Linked DNA regions of Homo sapiens: all the other regions are linked to region 1. The links are contacts of gene promoters, found by promoter capture Hi-C in blood cells and fetal thymus (Javierre and others, 2016). All regions are on one chromosome and are shown on one strand. The core of a region is centred on a gene start or on the middle of the fragment in contact, and the rest is flanking DNA. Distances in the headings are between cores, read along the strand shown. Region 1 holds the start of CDC73 (cell division cycle 73). Region 2 has its middle 15 kb from the start of RGS2. Region 3 overlaps LOC105371665 (a long non-coding RNA gene). Region 4 has its middle 8.5 kb from the start of MIR4426. Region 5 overlaps LOC107985241 (a long non-coding RNA gene). Region 6 has its middle 18 kb from the start of MIR4426.

Region 1 (4,171 bases), core at 90-2,589:
ATGAATAGAGAATGTGGGGATAGGTAATTGTAGCCATTTCTTTATAATGTGTGTGCTTGGGGTGAGATTCAGGAGAATACTACGGGGTGAAAACATTGGTGGAACAGAAAAAAATTTCACAAACTAACAGTTGCAGAATGGCTACAGATCATATCGGAAATGAACCACACACTTCTGTATCTGTAGTCCTCTGCGTTGTGAAAAGATTGACTTTTTTCAAAACAGGTCAAGGAATTTGGTTATGTCAAACACAAAGTTGCCTCTTTTTTCCTTCTGACATGGTAAAAGAAAAAAAACAATCCCATAGGATGTGTTTGGTTGGCCATAGTATATTGAACTTATCTTAACCGTCTCAAAACGCATGTCAAGGACACCACTGAGACTTCTGAGTACCATTTAAAAAATTGGGTAGTCTGGAAGTGTTCTAAATTGGACCGTTTGGGGTTTCTGTTAGGGCAACTTTCCCATTTACATCTTGGAACACAGCCTTTTGAATATAGCCCTTCGGGATTGGCGGGGAGAAGGGACCGCGATGGAAAAAGTCATCATCCAAAGAATGAAGAGGGAGGATCCAACATTTAGGATATTTTATTGACTTGCTAGGCGCGTTTACCTTATCTTCGTATTAACCCCATTTTCTTCATTAACCAATTGATGCTGTGAGAAGCTATGTAACTTGACGAGCAGTGCCCAGAACTGTTTTTTTTTTTTTCTGGACTCGGTCTTTTCCACTCAAAACCAACAAAAAACCAAAACTCGTTCTTTTCCACATCAAAAGCAAACAAAAAACCCCAACCCCAACCCCAAGAGCCCCACTCTTTCAAAAGGGCTTCTCCGGATCACTAAGTCCTAGAGGTCTTTGGCTAGGCCTGGGTCCGATCTAAATAGGAAGGTAATTCTAGTGTTCCGCAAATCCTTGCCGAATTCCATCCCGGCCAAAGCAGGGACCCGGGGGAGCCTCTGGTCGCACCCGAGACAGTTCGTTAAATACTCAGTGCACGTGCTGGGGATGGAAGTGCTGACCCACTGCTCAGGTACGCGCGCACCTGACGCCGCTTGGTGCGCGCCGCGGGGTACTGGGTACGTGCTCCGCGCGCGCGCGCCCGGCAAAGTTCCCCGTACGTGCGCCGTACGTGGGCGCGGTGCCCCAGCGCTCAGCGTTTCAGCGAGTGAGTGGGCTCCGTGCCCAGCTGAAGTCTGGGAGGGGCACTTTTCCAGGCGGTCGCGGCTCCCCCTGGCGGCGGATGTGCCTCGCTGGAGGGGCGCAGTCAGGCGTTCTCCGCGGGCAGCCGGCGGCGGGGCCTTGCCTTACAGCGCGGGGTCCTCGGCGGCCTGGGTGGCTACTGCCCCTGCTGCTGTCGTAGGCGAGGACGGCTGTTAGTGCTGCTGCTGTTGGTTCGTCGCGGCGGCGAAGGAGGAGGAGGAAGAGGGCGAGGCGACAAGAGAAGAAGGAGGCAGGCGCGGCGGCAGCGGCGGCGCCCCGAGCCGGCGGAGGCGAGGGGGGGGAAGATGGCGGACGTGCTTAGCGTCCTGCGACAGTACAACATCCAGAAGAAGGAGATTGTGGTGAAGGGAGACGAAGTGATCTTCGGGGAGTTCTCCTGGCCCAAGAATGTGAAGACCAACTATGTTGTTTGGGGGTAAGTCCGGCATGGCTGTGGCCCAGGGGTGGCAGGGCAGAGTTGGGCGCCCCCAGGCGACCTCTTTCTTAACCCCTCCCCCCGTTTCCCCTGGGGATGGGATAAAACGGGTGTTCGGGGAAAAGAAAGTTTCTCTCTAGAGCAGAAGTTGCACTTTTAGGGTAAGGAAAGAAGGGGCGGAGCTCTAGAGCAGTTCATCACTTAAAATTTTTGAGAAGCCCAAAGGAAAGGTACCGTGGGAGTTTCTGACTTTTACAGTTAATTTTTATCAGTAGGTATGTGTACCAGCGAAGTGTGGGACTGGTGCGCAAGGGATACCTGAACATAGGTGCACAAAGGAGCACACCGTCTGGTGCCGTAGACGCCTCTTTTTGTTCTTTATTTTTTTTTTCTCTTTTCCAGGCTGCTATGTAACTATCTCCGCTGGTCTTTGCAACTCCTGGTTTATTTCATCTCCTTTCATTGTTGGGGTGGGGGTGATTCCTGTAGAAGAGAAAAGGGAATCAACCCTGAAGTTAGGACCGGAAAGAAATTTGGTGAATTTGGAAGAGTCATAAAAGTCTGTGTTAGAGAGGTCTTCAGGAGTTGGTGAAATGAGTGAGCTTTACAGATCTAAGAAATAGATGGTGCGTGTGATTTTTCGGAAGTGTATTTTAAAGGGAAATGTTTGGGAATGTTGGTCCATGTGAAGTTTTATCAGTTTAAGTCATTCAGGAAAACTTCTAGAGACGGCTCTAACAGTCATTAGGGGCCTTTTTAATGATGTCACTGTCATTGGTGCATCGCTTCTAGAATTAGAACCTTGAGCTACAACTTCCCTACTCATTTTGTTTCTTTGAATGGAAGCTTTATGAAGAGTCGATGAAAAACTAGGGAAATTTAGTTTGTTGGTTGGTATTTATTTATTTATTTTTGAGAGGGAGTCTTGCTCTGTCGCCCAGGCTGGAGTGCAGTGGCGCGATCTTGGCTCACTGCAATCTTTGCCTCCTGGGTTCAAGTGATTCTCTTGCCTCAGCCTCCTGAGTAGCTGAGGTTGCAGGCCCCCGCCACCATGGCCGGCTAATTTATGTAGTTTAGTAGAGATGTGGTTTCACCGTGTTGGTCAGGCTGGTCTCGAACTCCTGACCTCAAATAATCTGCCCGCCTCCACTTCCCAAAGTGCTTGGATTACAGGCGTGAGCCACGGCGCCCTGCCTATTGGTTGGTTTTAAAATTTTTTTGTCTTATGATTTAATTAGCTTTATAAAATGTTGATCAAATGACATTCTGAGTTTCTGGTATTTTACCCTTTCGAATAATTTGCATAGGTAGAATTACATGTGGTTGGATTTTTAGTGAATTTTTTTTTTTTTAGACAATGGCTAAGGAGTACCTAGGGTGTGAAGTGGTTCAATCTGAGGATTAAAAAAATTCCTAAGACTCTGGTTTCTACCTCAAAGGAGGTTAACTTAGTCTGAATAGAGGAGATTAAACAGATAAGTTGATGTGAAATGCTTTCTATAAGTTGATGTGAAATGCTTTCTACAATAGCTTTTGAAGACAGCAGTCACTTCTAGTTGGGGTTATTTAGGAGAAGGTTCCATAGAATTGTCTTTGGCAAGTTCACATCCAACAAAGTTTTCTTGAATGAATGAATGAATGAACAAACAAGCTTTAAAGAATAGGTAGGAATTCTCTGGGCTAAATGATGGGTTAAGTCTTCCAAGATGAGTGAACTGTATACTTAAAGGCTGTATGCTTAAAGGCATAAAGAACTGGAAAGTAAATGTGTTGACAGCAATCCAGTGAAGCCAGTGAAAAAGGAGTGCTTATCACAGTAGATTTTAAACTTTTTCAGCAGTTTATCACACCAAGAAATTGTTTTTATTTTCTATATGTGCACATGCACATGGAAATATATACACATATAAAACACTAAACAATACTTACTCTTCTTATTGTATGCAGTGCATTTTATTTTTCTGTTCTTTTCTATTCTGAAAATAGAAAAAATATGGTTGTTAACTATTTATTGGGTTTCATAGTACAATAATTGATGGTGTGTGGTTTGAAATACATTGGTTTAGAGGAAAAATGGGACTAGAAGGTAGAAAAGTAGGTTTAGGGCTGATTATAGTGGACCATATTCAGATGGATTCAAAGATATAGAAGGGGAAAGTGTAGAAGGAAGGGTAGGATTGGAATGAGGTAATATTAGTACCTGCATTAGAGATCTTGCACCGTTAGTAGACTACATTGTTTTATCACAGGTAGAATAGCATTTTGGTTTTACATTATTGGTCTAATTTGAGGGATGCCATAACAGTCATACCCCTGAAATTCAGTGTTGTGTTTACTGTAAGAATGTGAAGGATGTTGTTCAGCAGTATCTTATTTATCAAGAGCCATAGGATAAATTTCTTTTACATTTAGCACCAGTGATAATTGTGCTTCTTCTAAGCAGTGTAATTGTTTTCTCTTATGGATCCTCTTCGATATGGATCTGGTTAGATTTCTCTATTGGTAAAGCCCAGAGCCTAATTTGGGCCTAA
Region 2 (4,134 bases), core at 1,544-4,043, 300 kb before region 1:
GCCCACTTCGTTTGTTTGTTTGGTTGTTTTTTTTTGAGATGGAGTCTCACTCTGTCCCCCAGGTTGGAGTGCAGTGGCACGATCTCGGCTCACTGCAAGCTCTGCCTCCCGGGTTCATGCTATTCTCCTGCCTCAGCCTCCCGAGTAGCTGGGACTACAGGTGCCCGCTACCACGCCCGCCTAAGTTTTTGTATTTTTAGTATAGACGGCGTTTCACCGTGTTAGCCAGGATGGTCTCAATCTCCTGACCTCATGATCTGCCCGCCTCGGCCTCCCAAAGTGCTAGGATTACAGGCGTGAGCCACCGCACCCAGCCTGTTTGTTATTTTTTAACATTTAAAATATAGGCTCTAGGGAAGGAGTTCTGGACCTGTCCATAGACCTTTTAGTGGTCTCTGCCCTTGGATAAGAAAAAAATTACACATTCTTTTTTCTAACCCCTAATTAAATGTAGCATTTTCTTCCTTTGTGAGTCTAAGAAATAAGCCAGGCCAGGTGCAGTGGCTCACGCCTGTAATCCCAGCACTTTGGGAGGCCGAGGCGGGTGCATTACCTGAGGTCCAGAGTTCAAGACCAGCCTGACCAATATGGTGAAACCCCATCTCTAGTAAAACTCCAAAAAACAAAAAATAAAAAATAATTAGCCAGGCGTGGTAGTGCGCACCGGTAAACCCAGCTATTAGGGAGGCTGAGGCACAAGAATCCCTTGAACCCAGGCGGTGGAGGTTGCAGTGAGCCAAGATCACACCACTGCACTCCAGCCTGGGCAACAGAGCGAGACTCTATCTCAATGAAAGAAAGAAAGGAAGGAAGGAAGGAAGAAAAGAAAGGAGAAAAGAAAAGAAGGAAAGAGAGAGTGAGAGAAAGAAGCAGCAGTAGCAGTACATGTGACTACCACAAACAGAATTTTCAGATCTTTTCACATTACAATTGTTAAAGATTGTTATTTCCAACCTTCAATAGTAACTAGATCTGAAAATAAATCTTGTTTAAAGTGTTAATAAAGTACAAACAGTATATTGCTCTATCATAGTTTTTTAATTAAATGTTTTATTTTGAAATAATTGTAGATTCTCAGGCAGTTGCAAAAAAAAAAAAAAAAGATAGATCCTGCGTACTCGCTACTCACTTTTCCCAGGTGATAACATCTTGAAAAACTATAGTAAAATATCAGAACTAGGATCTTAATACTGATATGGTCAAGATATACAGAACATTTTCATCACCACAAGGATCCCATGTGTTGCACTTTTATAGCCTCACATACTTCCCTCCCATCCCATACCATCCTTAAACCCTGGCAACCACTAATCTCCTCTCCATTTCTACAATTTTGTCATTTCTCAGATGTTATTGATATGGAATCCTACAGTATGTAACATTTTGTGATGACCTTTCCACTCAGCACAACTCTCTGGAGATTCATTCAAGATGTTGCATGTATCAGTGGCTTGTTCCTTTTACTGCTGACTAGTATTCCATAGTGTGACTATACTACAGGTTGTTTAACCCATTGAAAAACATCTGGACTGCCTCAGTTTTGGCTATTACAAATTAAACTATTATAAACTTTCATGTACATGTTGCCGTGTCAACATAAGTTTCCACTTCTCTGGAATAACTGCCCGGGAGTACAATGGCTAGGTCATACACTAGTTGCATATTTAGTTTTATGAGAAAACCACCAAACTTTTTCAGAGTGGCTCTGTACCATTTTACATTCTCACCAGCAATGTATTTATGAGTGATCGAGGTTTTGCCCATCCTCAGAGCAGTTTGTGTTAATGGTGATATGTCTGTTCATATCTTTTGTCCATTTTCTAATTGGATTATTTATTTTACTGTTGAGACTTGAGTGTTTTTTATATTTTCTACATACAAGTCCTTCATCAGATATGTGGTTTGCATTTTCTGCCCAACCTATAGCTTGTTTCTTTATCCTTTTAACAGAGCAAAAGTTTTTAATTTCAGTGAACTCCAATTTATTAATTTTTCCTTGTATGAATCATGCTTCTAATGTCAAGCTTAAGAACTCTTTGTCTAGCCCTAGGTCCAAAATATTTTTGGATGTTTTCCTTTGTCTTTAGTTTTAGAAGTGTGATCATGAGGTGTCTTAATGTAGATTTCTGAGTTTATCCTTTTTGAGATTTACTTGCCTCCTTGAATATGTAGGTTTAGCTCTCTTGCCAACTTTGGAAGTTTTCAGCCATTAATTTTTTTGGTTCTTTTCCAGACCCACTCTCTTTTTCCTTTCCTTTCAGAAGTCTAGTGACAAAATTGTTAGGATTTTTTTTGCTGTAGTCTCAGAGGTCTCTGAGGCTTTGTATATTTTTTCAGTCTATTTTCTCTTTTTTTCAGATTGGGTAATTTCTACCTTATCTTCAATGTTACTAACTGCTTCCTCTGTTTCATCTATTCTGATGTTAGGTCCATTCATCAAGTATTTTTATGTAAGTTATTGTATTTTTCAGTTCCCATTTTCCCATTTGGTTGCTTATCTCTTCTACGTCTTTGTTGAGACTTCCTATTTCTTTGCTTACATTTTCTATTTTTTCATTTGTTTTAAGTATGTTTGTATTTGTTTATTAAAGTATTTTTATAATGGCTTCTTTGAAATCTTTGTCATATAATTCTAATATCTTTATCATGTCAGTGTTGGCATCTACTGATTGTCTTGTTTCATTCAACTTGATATTTTCTTTGTTCTTAATATGCCAAGTGATTTTCTATTAAAACTTGAAATTTTTGAGTATTTTATGATGAGACCTTGGATCATATTTAAACTTCTGTTTTAGCTGGCTTCATTTGATGCTACTTCAGCAGAAGGGGGATGCTGCCTTATTTTTTCAGGTGGGATATAAGTCCAGGTTTGTTTGGCCTTTATTGATACCCAATAGGAAGAGATTCTCCTTTTTACTTTTTGACAGGGGTGAGAATTTCAGCTTCCCAGCAGGTTGCCACTGATGGTCATGTGTCTTACAGCTTGACAAAGGTAGAAGATTATACTCCCCACTCAGCCTTTACTGGCTTAGGTGGAGGTGGACATTTATTGTTTAAAAGTATCTGTCTTGCTAGGCTTCCCCTTTCCTAGTTCTTTGGCTGAAGAAAAAAGACTTTTCTTCGGGGACTTTTTTTTCTGTTTTCCTGGGCTATTGTGGATTGCCAGTTTTTTGGCTCCAAGTCTGAGAAATATAAGGCAAAAAGACAGTCTAAGGAACTTACCACCATATCATTCATTGGGACCCAAAGTCTCCAACCAGTCCTTCTACCTCTCTACATTTTCTTGAGTTTTTAATATTTGTTTCATACATAATATGCAGGGTTTTTAGTTGAAATTAGTGGGAGAAATAAGGAAAGATATGTCTATTCCATCTTCCAAAAAGTAGAAGTCTTCTCTATTACCATTTTTAATAGTTTGATTACTATATTTCAGTATAACTGGTTTCCTTTGCAATCCCATAAATTTTGTTTATGCATTTACAAACAATTTTCTGAGAATCACCACATAGCCATCAAGGTCCATGGCATGGAACCACCATGAGCCATTTTAGAGAAAAATATTAAAAGCTTGAGACCAGAAAGAAGCAGCAAAGAATTATATTCCAAGATGAAGCAATGGGCACAACTCCCTTCTTTAGAGCACACGTTGGCTTTCTAACTTCCAGGTACCCTCTCTAACCCCCCGAGGGTCACATGGAGAAGAGTAACTAGAGCTAGATTGATGACTTGGAGAGGAGTAGGGAGCCATCTATTGTCTTATTGTCTTGCAAGGCTGTTGCCTTGGTGGCCCAAGCCTACAAACCATCCTCAAAACTCAGAGATCACCACCTGTCACCCCACTTGAGAAGTAAAGTTAACCATTCATCCATCACTTTGGGTATGGGCTTTCCATTCCCCAGGATAGCCCCTTCTTAATTTCCACTACATTGGAAATCCCCTTTCAATGGCCCAGAATATTCATAGGCATGCCTTCCACTCTGACAGGAGATACAGGTGTTTGTCATCCTGGTGGCAAGTGGTGAAGCAGCAGGGAAAACTCATACACCAGGACATGAGAGGGACTATTCACCCATTTTGCATTTAAATGTGTATCTACTCTTTCATTAGATGGTGAATTCCTCAGAGGAAATGAAC
Region 3 (3,985 bases), core at 1,250-3,749, 350 kb before region 1:
ACCATAATTAGGGGAGTCAGAGATCACCTCTAACCATCTTTAAGCTCTTACATGGGCCCTTCAGCTGAATCTATAAACCAAACTGACACCAGGCAGATTAACAAAACAAAAGCATACACATTTTATTAGTTTTGCATGTACATGGGGACTTCACAAAAGAGTAAAGTCCAAAGAAGTGGCCAAAAAAAGATGCTTCTATACTTTTTAGACAAATAATGATAAATTTTAGAAGAAATGACAGGACAAAGGAAATCTGGCTAGGGACAGTAACTATATTCAGGTTCACTGTAGGCCGCCAGTTCCCAGTCTCTGGCGATAAGGGCTATTTTCTAGCTCTGGTACTGGGAGGGTACTCCTCCCAGAGGAATCTTTATGGCTTGCTGCCTGCAGGAAGAGACAGGTCAGCTAGACCTTTCTGAAACTATCATTTCTCCAATGTTTTCAACTCAACGTAGTCAATATATTAACCCAGCATATTTCGGGATGGTATATCATTCAGTCCTTCACATACAACCACAAAATTCCATTCAATATGTATCTTAGAGCAGTGGTTCTAGGATATATGTGTGGCCTGAAGAACCCTAGAGGCTTCCTAAGACTCTTCTTTCAGGGAATCTACAAGATCAAAACTATTTTCATAATACTAAGATTGTTTTGCTTTTCCACATTCATTGCTTCACAGTGTACAATGAAGTTTTGCAGATGCTACCTGCTGTACACACACACACACACACACAGACACATACATACATGCTAAACACCATCTCTTAAGGGGAAGGAGGTGAAATGGCATCAGAAAGGGCCACATGGAACTGATTGTCTTGTAACCCTGAGTAGATGTAAAATGTTCATCATCAGCTTTACAAATTCTATTTTCTGGATCACATATTAAAGAGATAAAGTCTCCTACTGTGTATTTATATAAATAAACTATATTTACCAGCCTCACATTCTTATATTTAACCAACAATCCTGATAGTAATCATAAATTCTCCTATGATAGCCTTTGGCTTTTTGACGTGAGAAAAATGAAAGGACTTCCTCCACTGAGGAAAGGTACCCCAGTGGAGAGAAAAGCACAAAAGCCATGGATGAAAAGAGTCTAGATTTTTACAACCATGCCTAGTGCTCATCCACTGGCCCAAGCAATTTACATGACATCTGTGAACCTCCTCCATTCCTTATTTGTAAAATGGAGATAATATTTCTTAGATAGCATTATAAGTATGAGGGGTAACTAATGTGAAAGGATTTTTTTTTAATTAAGAAATGGCCTTTGGAGGTAGAAGATTTATTCATCTCTTTGGATTCCATGTTAGTCAACATAACGCTCCTTTCCATTCTCTCGTGACTCCCTTATAGTGGCCCAGGGAGGGTTCATAGTAGGAGTCATCCTTCTCAGGTGAAGGCAATAAAGGGTATATTGCCTAAAGAGAATTTTAAAACAATAATAAAACCAACTAAAAGTCCAAATGCTGTTTATTATTACCACAGGCTGCTGATTGTAAATATTGCCAATGCTGCCACTGCTCTTATACACCTTCTTCACTCTGTAGGACTCAGCAAAAATGCTGGCCTTTTTTTTTTTTTTTTCTTTTTTTGAGACAGTCTCACTCTGTTGCCCAGGCTGCAGGCTGGAATGCAATGGTGTGATCTCGGCTCACTGTGTTCAAGCAAGTCGCCTGCCTCAGCCTCCCGAGTAGCTGGGATTGCAGGTGCCCACCAACATGCCTCGCTCATTTTTGTATTTTTAGTAGAAACAGGGTTTCACCATGTTGACCAGGCTGGTCTCAAACTCCTGACCCCTGGTGATCCACCCACCTTGGCCTCCCAAAGTGCTGGGATTTAGGCGCGAGCCACGGCGCCCAGCCCTGGCCCTATTTAAATACAGCATCTTGCATATTCTGCATCTAACTCAGAAATGAAGAAAACACACAATAAAGCTAAAAATTCCATTGTTACATTCATGACCTCAAATCTTAAATGGACATTCAACACTGGTGGGCATTGCACTACACTTTTCTGGTATATTTGTTCCCCTACTATCCAAATTACTATTTCACACATTTTTCTTCCTTCTCAAATATATGACACTCCTGACTATCCCTCTCAGTATTTGCTAATGACCTCATACCTCATTAAGCAAGGAGAAAGAATGCAATGGGAACGCCCTCATTTTTCTACCATTAAATATATCTTTCCTACTAGTAAATTCTACCTTTCCTCCTCCTCTCCCAATAGATGAGGTATTCCTGCTCATAGATGATTGTCCCCTTGTGCTCTGGATCCCCTATGACTTTTTCAAGGACTTGATGTATATAATTACCGCCTATCTGTCAATTGGATTATTATACCTAATGGAAGAATGGATGGATAAATAGTTGAATGGATGGATGGATGGATGAATGAATGAATGGAGAAAGAGATGTTCCCTTGTTCACACCTCCTTTGCAGCTACAACCTAATTTCTCTGCTTCCTTTCCAAGAGAAACATCCAAAGTGATGTCTAAAGTCATACTCTCCATTTTCTCACTTCCTATTCTCTCCTCAATTTGATCTAACTGGACTTTGTCCCCACCATTCCACAGAAACTGTTCTAAGCAAGATCATCAACAATCTCCATCGTGTCCAATCCAATGTCACTTCTCCGCCCTTAAGCCCTCAGCAGCACACAGCTACTATAATACTCCCTTCCCTTTGAAGAATTTTCTTCTTTTGTAGCATCACATTGTTCTGGTGTTCTTGCCTAACTAATTGCTCTTTGTGAGTTCATTCTTCACATCTTTAGATACAACCTTTATATTCATTCTCAAAAATCTATATTTACAGCTCCAGCCTCTCCCTTGAATTCTCTGTCTAAAAATGGCATTCATTTCTATTTTAATATGTCCAAAACAGAATTGTTGCTTCCCTGCCATATATGTTCTTCCACCATCTTCCCTTCATCAGCAAATGACACAATAGCTTACCCAGTTGCTCAAGCTGGAAACCTAATGGTTACCTTTTTTCTCACACCCCAAATTAATCTCATCAGCAGCCCCAAAATATATCCTAGATCTAACCATTTCTTTCCATTCTTTATCATGGTAGTCTAAGCCATTATCATCTTTACCTTGGGCTGCTGAAATTTCCTTCTGTTTGCCCATCCATCATTCTTTTACCAAAAATTCTATATTCTACACAAAAGCAAGAATCAGTTTGCTTTCGTGTAGAATATAGAACTTCATAAGCAAGCTGACTTGCTTACAAAATGCAAATTAGATCATGTTGCTTCCCTGGTGAACATCCTCCCATTACTTTCCATTATAACTAGAATAAAATCCACAACCTTTACCATTGCCTAGAAGCCCTGCACTATCTGGCTCATCCCCACCTCTGTGATCTCATCTCCTTCTGCTCTAACCATTGCTCAACGCATTTTAGCAATATTGACCTTCTTTTTCTTTCCTGGATATCACCAGGACCCTTTTCCTTAGAGGGAGTTTACATCCCAGTTTCCCTGAGTGGTCCAGGTTTTTGCCTGTTGTTCTGATGTCCTATTCACTTTTGCATTTGCACTTGAGCATTTGTCTCAGACTCATCTTTTGTTTTAAAACTAAGGCTTATTAATTGTTGCATTAAAATAAGCCAAAATGGGTTTGGTAGATCTTCCCTTTGTACTTCCAGTGGCTACCCTGCTGTTGTCTAATAGTGTGTGAAACATGTGCAGCAAACTGAGTTCTCACTCTAACAAATTGACTAAATCTGAAAGGTGACTATCAATAAGCATTCTCTTTTTTCAGATGCTTTCAAAGGAAAAGTAACAATCAAGTTGGACTCTTCCTAAAGTAATGCACTGGGACAGAAGAGGGTAGGAAGAGCCAAGTGTTCCAGGTCTCTGAGGGTGGTCAGAGATGTAGTAAATTTCTTTACCTCTGGTATACTAGCCAGTGGGGCAAGATGTTGGAAAATATCCTGTGGATTACTGGGCTTACCTTGTCTGAAT
Region 4 (4,194 bases), core at 173-2,672, 400 kb before region 1:
ATAAGAAATAATAGAGTACTATTTGAAAATGCTTCCTGGTACCCAGTCAGGCTGTATCATAAACAACCACATTTGGAATCTCTGCTTCAGGCATTGCAAGGAGCCAGAACAGAGTGAACTTGTCAGAATAGAGTATCTACGTCTCCTATTCTACTCCTTTTATTCTCTCCACATAAATAACACACACAAGAAATTTAGATCTCACAAATAGGTGCTAAAAGGGTCAGCTCTCAACAATATGCATTTTATCATAAACACTGCATGGTTTTAATTCCTACCAACCAACTCAGTTCGACATTGAACCAGTCTTGACGTAATATTAGGGGAGCTAAATTATTCTTTGAGCTTCACTTCTGCTCGGAAAGATTGAAGAGTCTATTCATGACAACACTTGATATTGTTCCAAAAAAAATTTTTTTTTTTTTAGACGGAGTCTCGCTCTGTCACCCAGGCTGGAGTGCAGTGGCACGATCTCGGCTCACTGCAAGCTCTGCCTCCCGGGTTCATGCCATTCTCCTGCCTCAGCCTCACGCGTATCTGGGACTACAGGCGCCCGCCACCACGCCCGGCTAATTTTTTGTATTTTTAGTAGAGACGGGGTTTCACCATGTTGGTCAGTATATTCTCGATCTCTTGACCTCGTGATCTGCCCGCCTTGGCCTCCCAAAGTGCTGGGATTACAGGCGTGAGCCACCACGCCCGGCCCAAAATTGTTTTCTAATCCTCCCTGTGAATGGATGCCGTATGGACACCAAGCTGCCATGCGCACCTCTTGAGGCACACACTGACAAATGGGGCTTATTCCTCAGAACCAGACAACGATCCAAAACGTATTCAAGCTGGTGTCAACTTATACCATGGCTGTTTCTCACAAGTTTATTATAGAGTTATGGTCAGAGTTCCTGTTGAAAAACTTCATAAAGTTGTTGCTTTCTATTGTCGATTAAATCCCCACAAGAAAAAAAAAATAGAGAGTAAATTCCCAGCTTGATAATTTCACTAACTTTTACAATGACATTCTCCAGAATGTATATTAAGACTGTGGCCCAGTGTACCCTCCTTTCCACACTCCAAGAAAGTATCCAAATAGTGTACAATTGAAGGGCTTACGCTTGCACAGGCCTGGGTACAAAGCCATCCTCTGGAGTCCGGCTGCCCAGTTCAAATCCTGGCTCAGAAAATGACCAGTTCTGTGACCATGAGGAAGCTCTTTAGTCTCCATACCTTGGTTCTTCCAAATGTATGGGAAAATGAGGACCATAATGGAATTGTTCTGAAGATTAAATGAAATTGCCCACATAAAACCATTAGTAAAGTGACTGAAACAGCACAATGTTTCTCCCTCATGTATCTTTTTCATTTTTATTCTACAAGTCTTGCCATAAAATCTATGGAATACAAGATGTACAACTCAAGTTATGTTGTATGTGATTAAATTGGCAAACTAGAGGAGGCAAAATCTGCATGATTCTTAACTAATTTGGTTCTTTTAAACAAATACCAAAGTGTACTGTCTATGGAGGAACTCTAAGGGGCAAAAGCAACTGCTTTCTTCTGTGTGTACTGGAGCTAACAGAATGCTTCAGGATGCTCAGTCATAGTGGGAGAAACGATGCATTCAATAATGCTTTTCTCAAAAATCAGAGAAAACATTTGTATTTTAAGTGGTATCCTAAATCAATTTTTGCAGCGTATTTTTAATAAATCAGCTTTGAAAAGCCCTCTATTGTTTAAATAATAGACAATATGAGCCCTGTGCTTACCAAGACAATCATTCACTTATGTACCAGTTTAATTTCAACATCATAATTATTCTGGCATTAATTCAATAGAAGCTCTTTCTCCTTTACATGAGGTGTGATACTTAAATCTTACTAAATTATAACAATAATTAAAATAGGGAAAAATATTGTATACTGTTCAACCTATAATAAATACACTAAAATATCAGTTACTTGTCTATCTTTTTTTTAGAGGTAGGGGTCTCACTTTGTTGCCCAGGCGGGAGTGCTATGGATATTCACAGATGTGATCACAGCCTATTACAGACTGGAACTCCTGGATCAAGTAATCCTCCTGCCTCTGCCTCCCAACTAGCTGGAACTACAGCATGCCACGGCACCCAGCTATGTGTGTCTAATTTTTAATGGCCCATTGATGAGTAAATTCCATGTCATTGTTCCAGCAGATCCCTGAGTCACTGTAGCTTCATGACTGAGAATTAAGGCCAAGCCAAATTCCTCCTAAGACACTACATAATCGCATGTCTGACCCTCTCCCCAAACTGCAACATATACAAATGATGAACTCAAGAATCACGGCACTCTCTGCTTAAAGATTACCATAACCCTTTCCAAATTAACAGCATGCTCAAATGTTTTGCAAAATTCTAACACAATGAAACCTACAGAGGCTCATTCATATTTTTTGTGAAAAAAATAATGTAACAAATTCCAGATTATGAAAAGAGCATGAGACTGAAAGACCGAAAGTTCAAATTCTAATCCCAGTTTATCATTAACTTGATGAGTGACATTGAGTAAAAGCACCTGACCTCGCTGTACCTCAACTTCCCTATCTTAAAAGGTGAACGTTATAGTACTTGTCCTACTACTGTACCTGGTTGTTGACCAAATTAAATATAATAAATCATATTTAATTTATTTTCAAATATATATATATTTCAAGTATATATTTATTTTCAAACCATGCATACATTTGAAAATTGTGTTGTACAAATGTAAAATATTGCTGTCAATTTTCTTAGAACATTTTCATTCCCTCTATAACACGTCTCTGTTACCAACCATATCATTGCATGATGTTCTCCTAAGAACTCTTTATTCTTACCAATGACCCCAAGAGTTGTAATGCTGCATTGTAAAAAATTGCCATTTAAGGATATTTTTAAAGTAACAAATTGGCATTTCAGCCATCTATCTATAATGTAATATGATATAATATAATCTTGTTGTTTCCCACTTTCTGTAAATATTATCTTCCAGCATTTCCTGGAAAGGAGTATTTAATTTCTAAATTTTACTGATTACAGTTGTATTTCACAGAAAAATGACATAAGAGAATACAGAATTAGCTTAATATGAAAATGTTTTCTGGGCCAGGGATTTGGATCTCAAGTTGCAGGTGTGAAAATTCTCATTTTCTTTTTTGGTTTTTTGTTTTTTCAATGTCTTATTCTAACACACCAAACATATGTATGAAGAGAAAAAACAGGTAAATAACAGACAGTATGGTAGCAAAAGCCTGGCTTTGTAGCTGCTGATTTCAAGTCTGGCTTTACTACTTACCAGCAAAGGGTAAATCATTTCACCTTGCTTAATCTAAGTTTCCCCATAGGTAAAATAGATACACATTTTATATAACAGTTATAAAGTTTAGAAATACAGCCAAAACATCTAGTTTTCATAAAGTTGGGAAACAGTATCATATGATATTCCAAATGAAACACTGAGCACTTATGTGTTCCAATGAAAAGAAACCTTCTTTTCTTCAGGCTCCAACTCTCTTAGCCCTTTAAGCTTCAGCATCTTCAGAGTTACTTGTTCATATCCCAGGGTTGATGCTGGTTATTCTTGACAGCTGCAAAAAGAGCAGAAACTGCACCACCAGGCATGGTGTCTCACGCCTGTAATCCCAGCACTTTGGGAGGCCAAGGAGGTGGATCACCTGAGGTCAGGAGTTCGAGATCAGCCTGGCCAACATGGTGAAACCCTGTCTCTACTTAAAAATACAAAAATTAGCCAGGCGTAGTGGAGGGCACCTGTAATCCCAGCGACTCAAGAGGCTGAGTCAGGAGAATCACTTGAACCCAGGAGGCAAAGGTTGCAGAGATTGCACCATTGTTACTCCAGCCTGGGCAATAATAGTGAAACTCCCTCTAAAAAAAAAAAAAAAAAAAAAAATCAGAAACTGAGATGGATGATATTCTGGGAGGAGGACTTAACTTCTTGCTCAAATACTGACCACTCCAGCAACAGGTTTCCCATGAACTACCATATTTTCCTGCCACCCAGGAATTAGCACATCTCCATTTTGCTGTGGGGGTCCAATCCTGAGGTCCAGCAATTGCTCCCACAGAGAAAGGAGAGAGCTCTGAGTTATAACCTGTTAAAAAAAAAAAAAGCAAAGAATAACAAGAGGAGAGGTTGGTGATCTAGGAACAAGATCGTTGGT
Region 5 (4,255 bases), core at 238-2,737, 490 kb before region 1:
TAATAGAGAATACAATTTTCCACAACCCAAATTAAAATGTACACAAAATTTCTCTTCTGGTATCTATCCCTTAGCTTTATGTCCCCTTCCAGCAAAACTAGCTAAATAATTTGTGATGCCCAATGCAAAATGAAAATGAAAGGTCCTTTGTTTCAAAATCAAGAATATTAAGACAGTGACAACAGAGCCCTAAAACCAAATTCTGGCCCTGTGTTACCATGGGACATGTCACATGCACATGAAGCTAGACCAGTCTCTCTTATTCCTGAGTTCTAAACCCTTCTAAACATGTGTACCATGGTGTCTTCATCAATCATGAAGTGTTTCCTCTCTCCCACAGCAACCTCCAGTGATTTTTTGCCAATCCTTTGTCTCCATTGGTTTATATCATGGGCTGTTGCCATTTGATAGTCTCATGTCTCAACCTCTCAGAGACCAAGCTACCTACTAATTAATTCACTAGACTGATTGTACCTGGAAGGTCTTCTAATCCTCACATTCCCATTTCAAGTATGGCCTCCAAAATCTCTGTTGCATTTTTATTGACTAATGCATCACCTATTGGCCAAGGGAATCCCTGTGTGTGTGGACTGTGTGAATCTCAGTATCTTCAAATAATTTTGCTTGTGGTCCACCTTAGAATAAAGCTTGACCCTGGGCAAGGTCTTCTTGACAGAGTAATCAGTTTATTTTTTCCAGAGTGACAGATAAAACGTTTAATTTCCCATTATCTAGGCCCTATAAAACATCTGTAGGCTAAGAGCAGCTATGCCAATTAGCAGAAGTGACAGCCTGAGTCAATGAACTGCAGCCTAAAAATAAAGCCACATGGTCCCTTTGGTCCCTTTGGAACACTGCTTGACTTGGAACAGATCTAAGTGGAATATTCCTTAGTTACCACTGTTTCACAATAGTTTTTTGACCCCTTTTTCTTAGGCATGTTTGATTTTCCGGTGTATTTCTAAACATGCACATAAGCAATTTAAATGTTTCCCCGGGCCTTGGCAGAAAGTGAAAATAAAATAATAAGAAATATATTATTAAGTACATTATTATTTATGTTATCAGATAAAACAAGTGTTTTTGAGCTGCTGGAGTTCTTTGTTTAGAAAAGCTTGGGTGTTTTTTTAATTATCATCAAATTCAATATGCATAAAATTCATAAAGCAAATTCATAAAATGTATAAAGCCAATGTATTTTGCTTTATGTCATGTACTTGAATACTGGGCATAAACTGAATTTCAGACATTTAAACTAGAAGAATTAACTAATGGAATTCCTATAGAATTCTTTTGTAAAATAAATCATTTTCAATGATAATAATCATTCTTTAATCTATATTTTCTTTCAGATATTTCATTATAAGAAGGCAGCATATATCGTGTGTCTTTAAAGAATGATGCTCAAATTGCATCATTTGAGGCAGAAAAATTAGATTCAGAAGCATAATATTCCATTTACTCAACTCAAATAGAAACCATGTTAATACCACTTAAGAGAAAAGACCAGAGTCTCAACATGGAATAAATTACAGTGAATAAAATAAAGCAAGAGTAGGGGAGAATTCGTGTAACCACAGCATCTTGTCACATGTTTTTCTAGTAGAGAAAGAAGAAGAGGAGATAGATACAAAGACACAAGGGCCTAAAAACTTTAGGCTGTTACCTAAACTGAGATAAGAATGTAAGATATACACAATTATCTGATTTTCAACCAGAAGTAAGCCAGAAAGGGAATGAGGACCTTAAAGTACACAGAACGCAGGAGTTAGGCAGCCTGAGTTTTTGACTCAGCTATATCTCAGCTACTGTGTGGCTCAGGGCAACGCACAAGAGATCAATTTCTTTCTTCATTACATGAAAGCTTTGAACTAGATTATCTAAATTTCCTTTAACCTCTAAATGTCCGTGATGGAACTTCTGCTTTAAAATGGGGTTGGAGAAGCAGTCTCTGAAACAAGCTCTTCCACTTCCTACACAGACAACCAACATTTAAATATAAAAATACCTTCCTTATTAGAAAAGTTGCCTTCACAAAGCTCTTTGGCAAAGGTTATAAGGAAAGCAAACAATCGATACAAATTTCACATTTCTATTTACTTTCTGCCTACTCACTTGGAAAAGCAATAAGATGAAATAAATTCCCACTGATCTGGGGGAAAATATAACTAGAATGCCATTTTTCCTAAGTTCCTTTGTTTGGAAGTTTTTAAAAGAGTTAAAACAAGCTTCACGGTTTATTAGATATTATTTTCTGTAGTGTTTGAAAATGTTATGGGGTAAAAAAAGGGCATGTGTTTTTAATGCCCTGAACATTTTCTTTTTCAAACAAAAGTCATCCTTCTTGTGTCTCGGTCCCCGTTGTTCTTCTTCCCATTCTGCCCCTTTGCTCAGCTTCATCTATAAAAATCATTTGTGTAATCTCTATTGGCCCCACGCTGTACATTCAGGATGCCTTATGTAGTTCCAGGCCTCCAGGATTATATTTCTTATAACACCAATCACTCTTCATTTTCCTTTGGATGTTATTTTCTTTGGGCAAAATTACTTTTCCTTTGTGTAAAAATGTTTTAAGAAAATATTTTCCATATCTGCAAAAAGCATGTAGTTGATGCACTAGTTTTACAGTTCTTAAAGCAACTCCTCAAATATTCAGACTTGAGGGGGAATTAAACAACACTTTTTGTATGGAGGAAAGCATACCAAAGTAGGTTTCTGAAGCTTCTGGGATTGCAATTTTTAAAATTCTTTGCCTTTTCTACAAAACTAAACTTGTTTTATCTAATCTTATTTGCATTATCATATCTTTCAGAGGTTTTAAGATATAGTGTCATAATCCTAAAGAAAAACATTTGCCTTGTATTTTATTCTAGTTCCTTGTTTGACTAAGTCACAAGGACACCATTGTTTAAATTTGCATGCCTCATAAAAATATATATTTGTGTAAATTATACTTACAAAGCATCTCCAGATATATCTCATTAACCACTACACAAATTATAGGTTACAAAAAGGTTACAGTCAGAGAGGCAGAACTACTTCTTAGGAAAGTATGAGATATGGGAAGCTTGTACAATATAATCCTTCCCAAACTTCACCCTATAATTTTTATCTAAGTGAAAATTGGTTAAAATGAACATTAGGGTAGTTTTTAGCTTGGATAAATCCTGTTGGGAAAAAAAAACTATATCCATCTATTCTTTGAATATTTATTGAGCATCTACTACATCAGTCTGAATGCTATGTCCACATATGCATTTGAAGCATGAATGAGAAAAGTGGGAGACTCCTTTGGTAAAGCAGGGAGAAGGAATGCAGGCTAATTCTGAGCTCTGCGCTCTTTTAGTCTCTCCTATCAGCTGACTGAGGTACCTATTTCTTTTAAAATGTTCCCTGCCTCTGATTCACTACCTAGCCATCTACTGCCCTCAATCACCAGACACCACGTAAGTCCTGAGGATAGATTTGTTTCAAGAATAAGACAAAAAGTATTTCAATGGTGATCTACAGAAAAACCATTTTAATTTCTGTGATAAGAAAAAAAAAACCGGAAATGTGGCACAAGTATGTTTGTTCTGTACTTCTATAGTAGAAAATTTATATACTTTGCACATGGCAGAACAGGACAGGCTTATCTAAACAATAAGGGATAGTGAGTTGATTAGGTGATTGGAAACAGGCTTCAGCTTTGCAACTGCACATCAGTGGGCCTTGTATGTTCAAAGCATTCCGCATCTAAAGAAGCAAACGATGCTTTCCATCTGTGATAACAAGGAAATGCTAAAGTTCCAATTTCCTTGACATTTTATTGCATTTACTTTTATCTAAAATGAGTATATAACATTATCTTATATAAAAGGAAAGCATGGTAGACGAGACATATCTTGAAAATCTTCTCTCTACCAGACATCCAGAAATGCTAAAAAAAAATATGTAACAACCCCATTTAAATGCATAGGCAAGCTTGCCAAAACTAAGAGAAATCAAGAAAAAAACAGAGGGAATCCTAAATCAGAGTGATAAACTGGCATTTAAAGTTTAGCTGAGTTCAGCATTTGCTAATCTCAGTAACCTAGAGATCTGGCTTTTAAGATCTGTTGCAAGCCAGGAAACAAAATCAAAGGCTGTCCTAATATGAGCCGGGGGCTCTTGAACTGCTATACCTTCAGTGAAACAGCAGACAGAAAAAAAACAAGTCACCTACAAAAATTGATGACAGGAACATGTCTATTTCAGCATAAAACCAGGTCTGTAA
Region 6 (4,149 bases), core at 227-2,726, 420 kb before region 1:
TTCCCATCATATCAACTTCCTGGCTTATACACATTCTTCTACCCCTCTTTCGAGGTTTTTTGTAGACTGAATGCACTAAACTAAACTAAGAACATTGTTAATTCACAAGTATTGGATTCATTTTGGTAGCTTTCAGCTGTAACCAATGGTTAGAAGAAGATGTATCCTGTGGGTCTTCTCTCCCACAGCCTGGCCACTCAGAATACACCAATGTGAAAGCAAGACTCAGAGCTGACTCTGCTACTTATGCAAATAGTCACTTTACCCCTAAATTGCCATACCACCAGTTCTTTAAGCTCCATGAAGGCTCATCTCTCTTAGCTTTTCAGGTGTCCCAACAGTGGTTGCTCTGGTTTGAATGTTTGCGCCCCACAAAATTCATATGTTGAAATCCTAACCCCTAAGGTGATGGCATTAGGAAGTGGGGCCTTTTGGGAGTCAGTAAGGCCTTAGGCAAAGCCCTCATAGGTGAGATTGGTGCTTATATAAAAGAGACCCCAGAAAGCTTCCTTGCTCCTCCCACCACGTGAGGACACAGGATGAAGGCACCATCCGTGAGAAACGGGGCCCTCACCAGATGCCAAATCTGTCAGCACCTTGATCTTGTACCACTCAGACTCCAGAACTGTGAGAAATAAGTTCTGTTCTTTATAAGCTACCCAATTTACAGTATTTTCGTCTAATATACTTTAATTGAATGGACTAAGATAGTGGCCTGTGTGGAAAATTCACCTGAAGCAGATTCTAATAGAGGAATTTAACTATCCTTCTGTTCAGGGTTTCACAACAATATCCTCTGATAAACAACAGAACACAGGAAAGATTCAGAATTCTAACCTATGATGCCTTTCCAAAGGATGTAATTTCTTGGGCTTACTAGATTGCTCTGTCTTGTTTAAGCACCAGTTCCCAAGCCCATACAAATTTCTAGCCTGATCAGCCCTCATTTCACAGATTAAAAGTAATATCTAACACCCATTATACTAATTAATAAGGCAACTGATATTAATTAAAATAAAGACATTGAAACCTTCTGAATGCCCAGGCCTCTGGTCTTTGGGCCTCTACTTAGAAATTTTCATGTACTAACTAATCATCCCTGGAGTGCATATTCCTGATTAAGGTACCTAACATGTTAACTAACGGACTTTAAAGTATAGATTAAGTTGACTACCACCTTCTATGCTGGGTGTTTTAATAGTAAACTGCAGGCCAGGCACGGTGGCTCACACCTGTAATGCCGGCACTCTGGGAAACTGAGGCGGGTAGTTTTCTTGAACTTAAGAGTTCAAGACCAGCCTGGGCAACATAGCAAAAACCCTGTCTCTACAAAAAATCCAAAAATTACCCAGGCACAGTGGCTCACGCCTGTAGTCCCAGCATTTTGGGAGGCTGAGGCAGGTGGATCACTTGAGGTCAGGAGTTCAAGACCAGCCTGGCCAACATGGTGAAACTACGTCTCTACTAAAAATACAAAAAAAAAAAAAAAATTGGCCAAGTGTGGTGGCACGTGCCTGTAATCCCAGCTGCTTGGGAGGCTGAGGCAGGAGAGTCACTTGAACCCAGGAGGCGGAGGTTGCAGTGTGCTGAGATCGAGCCAAGGCACTCCAGCATGGGCGACAGAGCAAGACTTCATCTCAAAAAAAAAAAAAAAAATAGCTGGGCATGGTGGCATGAGCCTGTATTCCCAGCTACTTGGGCTGAAGAGGGGAGAATCACTTGAGCCAGGGAAGTTAATTAAGGTTGTGGTTAGCCAAGATCGTACCACTGTACTCCAGCCTGGGCAAAAGAGTGAGATCTGTCTCAAAAAACTCCAAAAACTGCAGAATATAATATCTAACTTTACCTCCCCCTATTTCCCAACACACACATTCATCTAGAGCAGAGTTTCTCAATCTGGGCACTACTGATCTTTTGGACTGGATAATCCTCTGTTGTGAAGGGATGACCTGTGCATTATAAGGTGTTAGCACACTGCTGGTGTCTATCCATGAGATGCCAGTAGCATCCCTCCCCAGTTGTGATAAGCAAAACGTCTACAGACATTGACAAGTATCACATGCTCTTAAAATCACCCCTTGTTGAACATTATTGCCCTACAGTGTGGCTGACCCCCTAAAGCCAACCCCACTTACCAGGATATTTTTCTTTCTTAATTTTACTTATAGTGGTCCCCAGTCTTAGAAGATACCTTCTCCACTGCGCTACTCAAATGTGACCCATGCTTTAAGACAAGACAGCACCAAGAATTTCAAAAAGCAAATGAAGCTCTCAGAAGTGATTTATTTGGACCACGTAAATGTGGGCTACAGATTTCTGTAGACCTCACAGCTCTAGGGTATTACACTTTCTCATTCTTCCTACTTATCTCATTTATGTTATCTGCCTGGCCCTATGAGAATTTACATTAATACTTAATAATAAGTTTTAATTCATAATAAGCCTAATAAGCTTCATAATAAGCCTAATAAGCTTCATAATAAGCCTAAATCATCCTTCCAAGAAATTGTCCACTGTGATGTCCATATTGACCTCTTCCTTTTCAGGAGAAGTTTTATGCTATGAAGAAAACTAAAAAAATTCAACACAACTCGAGTACTAAAATTTCTCACAACTTAATGGCTCCTGTTAAGAGAAGCAAAGTATTAAAACAGTGTACTAAAGTCAGCTGTTCTTTAAAATAGTCACAGAAATTATGTTATCAGACTGGCAAAAAAAAAAAAAAAAAAAATGCTCACCTGGGTCAATATGAGCCATCCTGCAATTTTTGAAAGACCAAAGACCACATAAAACAGAGCTTTTTTTTTTTTTGCTGTGTCACCCAGGCTGCAGTGCAGTGATGCAATCTGGGCTGCAACTTCGCCTCCTGGGCTCAAGCAGTCCTCCCACCTCAGCCTCCTGAGTAGCTGCGACCACAGGCGCATGCCACCACGTTCAGCTAATTTTTATATTTTTAGTAGAGACGGAGTTTCGCCATGTCGCCCGGGCTGGTCTCGAACTCTTGGGCTCAAGCGATCCACCTGCCTCAGCCTCCCATAGTGCTGGGATTACAGGCATCAGCCACCGCATCCAGCCAAAGACAAGGTTCTTAACAAGTATTGTGTGAGTGTTCTTTTACAAAGCAGATATAAACCTGTGTGTAATAGGCAAAGGGTATATAAAGGTGATGATTTTTCTGTGAACTACTAACTCTTTTTTTTTCTAACTCTCTTTAGTCCCTAAAAATAAACCCTATCATATTAAATCAAGAACATCATAAGTAAATGTTGGCAAAATACAGTTAGGTGAACAGTGGCTGTTCTCAAAAAGGCTCAATAAACATAGTAGAAGTTATAACAAATTAATGATAAATAAAGCACAGTGAAAATGTAGTGATATATCTGTGCATATTTATAAATGTGTGTTAAATTATTTAAAAGAGATTCTACCTGAGTCTAGTTTATAACATGTAAGATTTTAGTTTTCTCTAAAATACAATTGAGATAAAAATTTAGCAATACTTTATTAAGATATGACCTTCATATTTATTTTATCTCAAAAGTTTTTTAACAGGACAAAAAGCACTTTCCAAACTGAATTATATATATTAGGAAAGTCCATATATGTGTGAAGATCTTTATTAACTATCAGGATTTTTGTAAATATAAATTATGTCCATTGATTATCTCACTCCTTTAGTTTTCCAACTGAAATAGTTCTACTTCTCCTTTTTTCTATGATTATATCAAACACTTTACAGTGCTTCAGCAAAGCTATACACCCCCTGCCCCAAAAGGAGAAAATTTCCTTTTAGATAATATGGCATTTTTCAAAAGAAAAGGGAAGGACAAAAGAACTTAATACTTATCATGTGCCTACTGTGTTCAGTTCTATGTAAGACACCTTCAAAAATTTTTATAACCTTACAATAATCATCAGAGAGAGGCAGTATTACATTCAGTTTATAGATAGAAAAATGACGTCTCAGAGAATTTAAGAATATTGTCTAATCTCTTAAATGGAAAATGTGGAATTCAACTGAAGCATATCTGACTCCAGTCTTTGGTTTTTGAACTATTCATACCGGTCATCAGTTTTCTCCTTCTTTGCAAAAGAATCTTGCCTATAGTGGTCAGTCGGGTCCACTTAGTTCAGTTATCTGTATATTAA

The links. The method cuts DNA at HindIII sites, captures the fragments that hold promoters and counts their contacts. A CHiCAGO score of 5 or more calls a contact.
Region 2: a fragment that was not itself captured here is called in contact with the fragment with the promoter of CDC73 in region 1 in 1 of 17 cell types (neutrophils); the score reaches 5.9 in neutrophils.
Region 3: a fragment that was not itself captured here is called in contact with the fragment with the promoter of CDC73 in region 1 in 1 of 17 cell types (neutrophils); the score reaches 8.0 in neutrophils.
Region 4: a contact is called between a fragment that was not itself captured here and the fragment with the promoter of CDC73 in region 1, in 1 of 17 cell types (neutrophils). The highest score is 6.2, in neutrophils.
Region 5: a fragment that was not itself captured here is called in contact with the fragment with the promoter of CDC73 in region 1 in 1 of 17 cell types (total B cells); the score reaches 5.0 in total B cells.
Region 6: a contact is called between a fragment that was not itself captured here and the fragment with the promoter of CDC73 in region 1, in 1 of 17 cell types (neutrophils). The highest score is 9.6, in neutrophils.

Annotation. Positions count from the first base shown.
Region 1 is chr1:193,120,692-193,124,862 of GRCh38, forward strand. It overlaps CDC73 (cell division cycle 73), which reads left to right and starts at 1,340. Exons shown (of 17, transcript NM_024529.5): 1 at 1,340-1,640. The coding sequence starts at 1,510. RefSeq lists enhancers at 837-1,483, 1,388-1,457, 1,484-2,128, 1,728-1,777 and a silencer at 1,148-1,227. The HindIII fragment of the contact is 13,310 bases long and covers 1-2,484 here.
Region 2 is chr1:192,822,352-192,826,485 of GRCh38, forward strand. No RefSeq gene overlaps it. Among named protein-coding and RNA genes, the nearest start is that of RGS2, 15 kb to the left of the region's middle. The HindIII fragment of the contact is 1,543 bases long and covers 2,023-3,565 here.
Region 3 is chr1:192,771,219-192,775,203 of GRCh38, forward strand. All of the region lies in intron 1 of LOC105371665 (a long non-coding RNA gene), which reads right to left. Among named protein-coding and RNA genes, the nearest start is that of RGS2, 36 kb to the right of the region's middle. The HindIII fragment of the contact is 5,622 bases long and covers 1-3,985 here.
Region 4 is chr1:192,722,714-192,726,907 of GRCh38, forward strand. No RefSeq gene overlaps it. Among named protein-coding and RNA genes, the nearest start is that of MIR4426, 8.5 kb to the left of the region's middle. The HindIII fragment of the contact is 4,229 bases long and covers 1-3,537 here.
Region 5 is chr1:192,629,014-192,633,268 of GRCh38, forward strand. The region is part of intron 1 of LOC107985241 (a long non-coding RNA gene); the gene reads left to right. LOC105371664 (a long non-coding RNA gene) reads right to left here and starts at 20. Exons shown (of 5, transcript XR_002958418.2): 1 at 1-20. The HindIII fragment of the contact is 750 bases long and covers 1,113-1,862 here.
Region 6 is chr1:192,696,063-192,700,211 of GRCh38, forward strand. No RefSeq gene overlaps it. Among named protein-coding and RNA genes, the nearest start is that of MIR4426, 18 kb to the right of the region's middle. The HindIII fragment of the contact is 1,946 bases long and covers 504-2,449 here.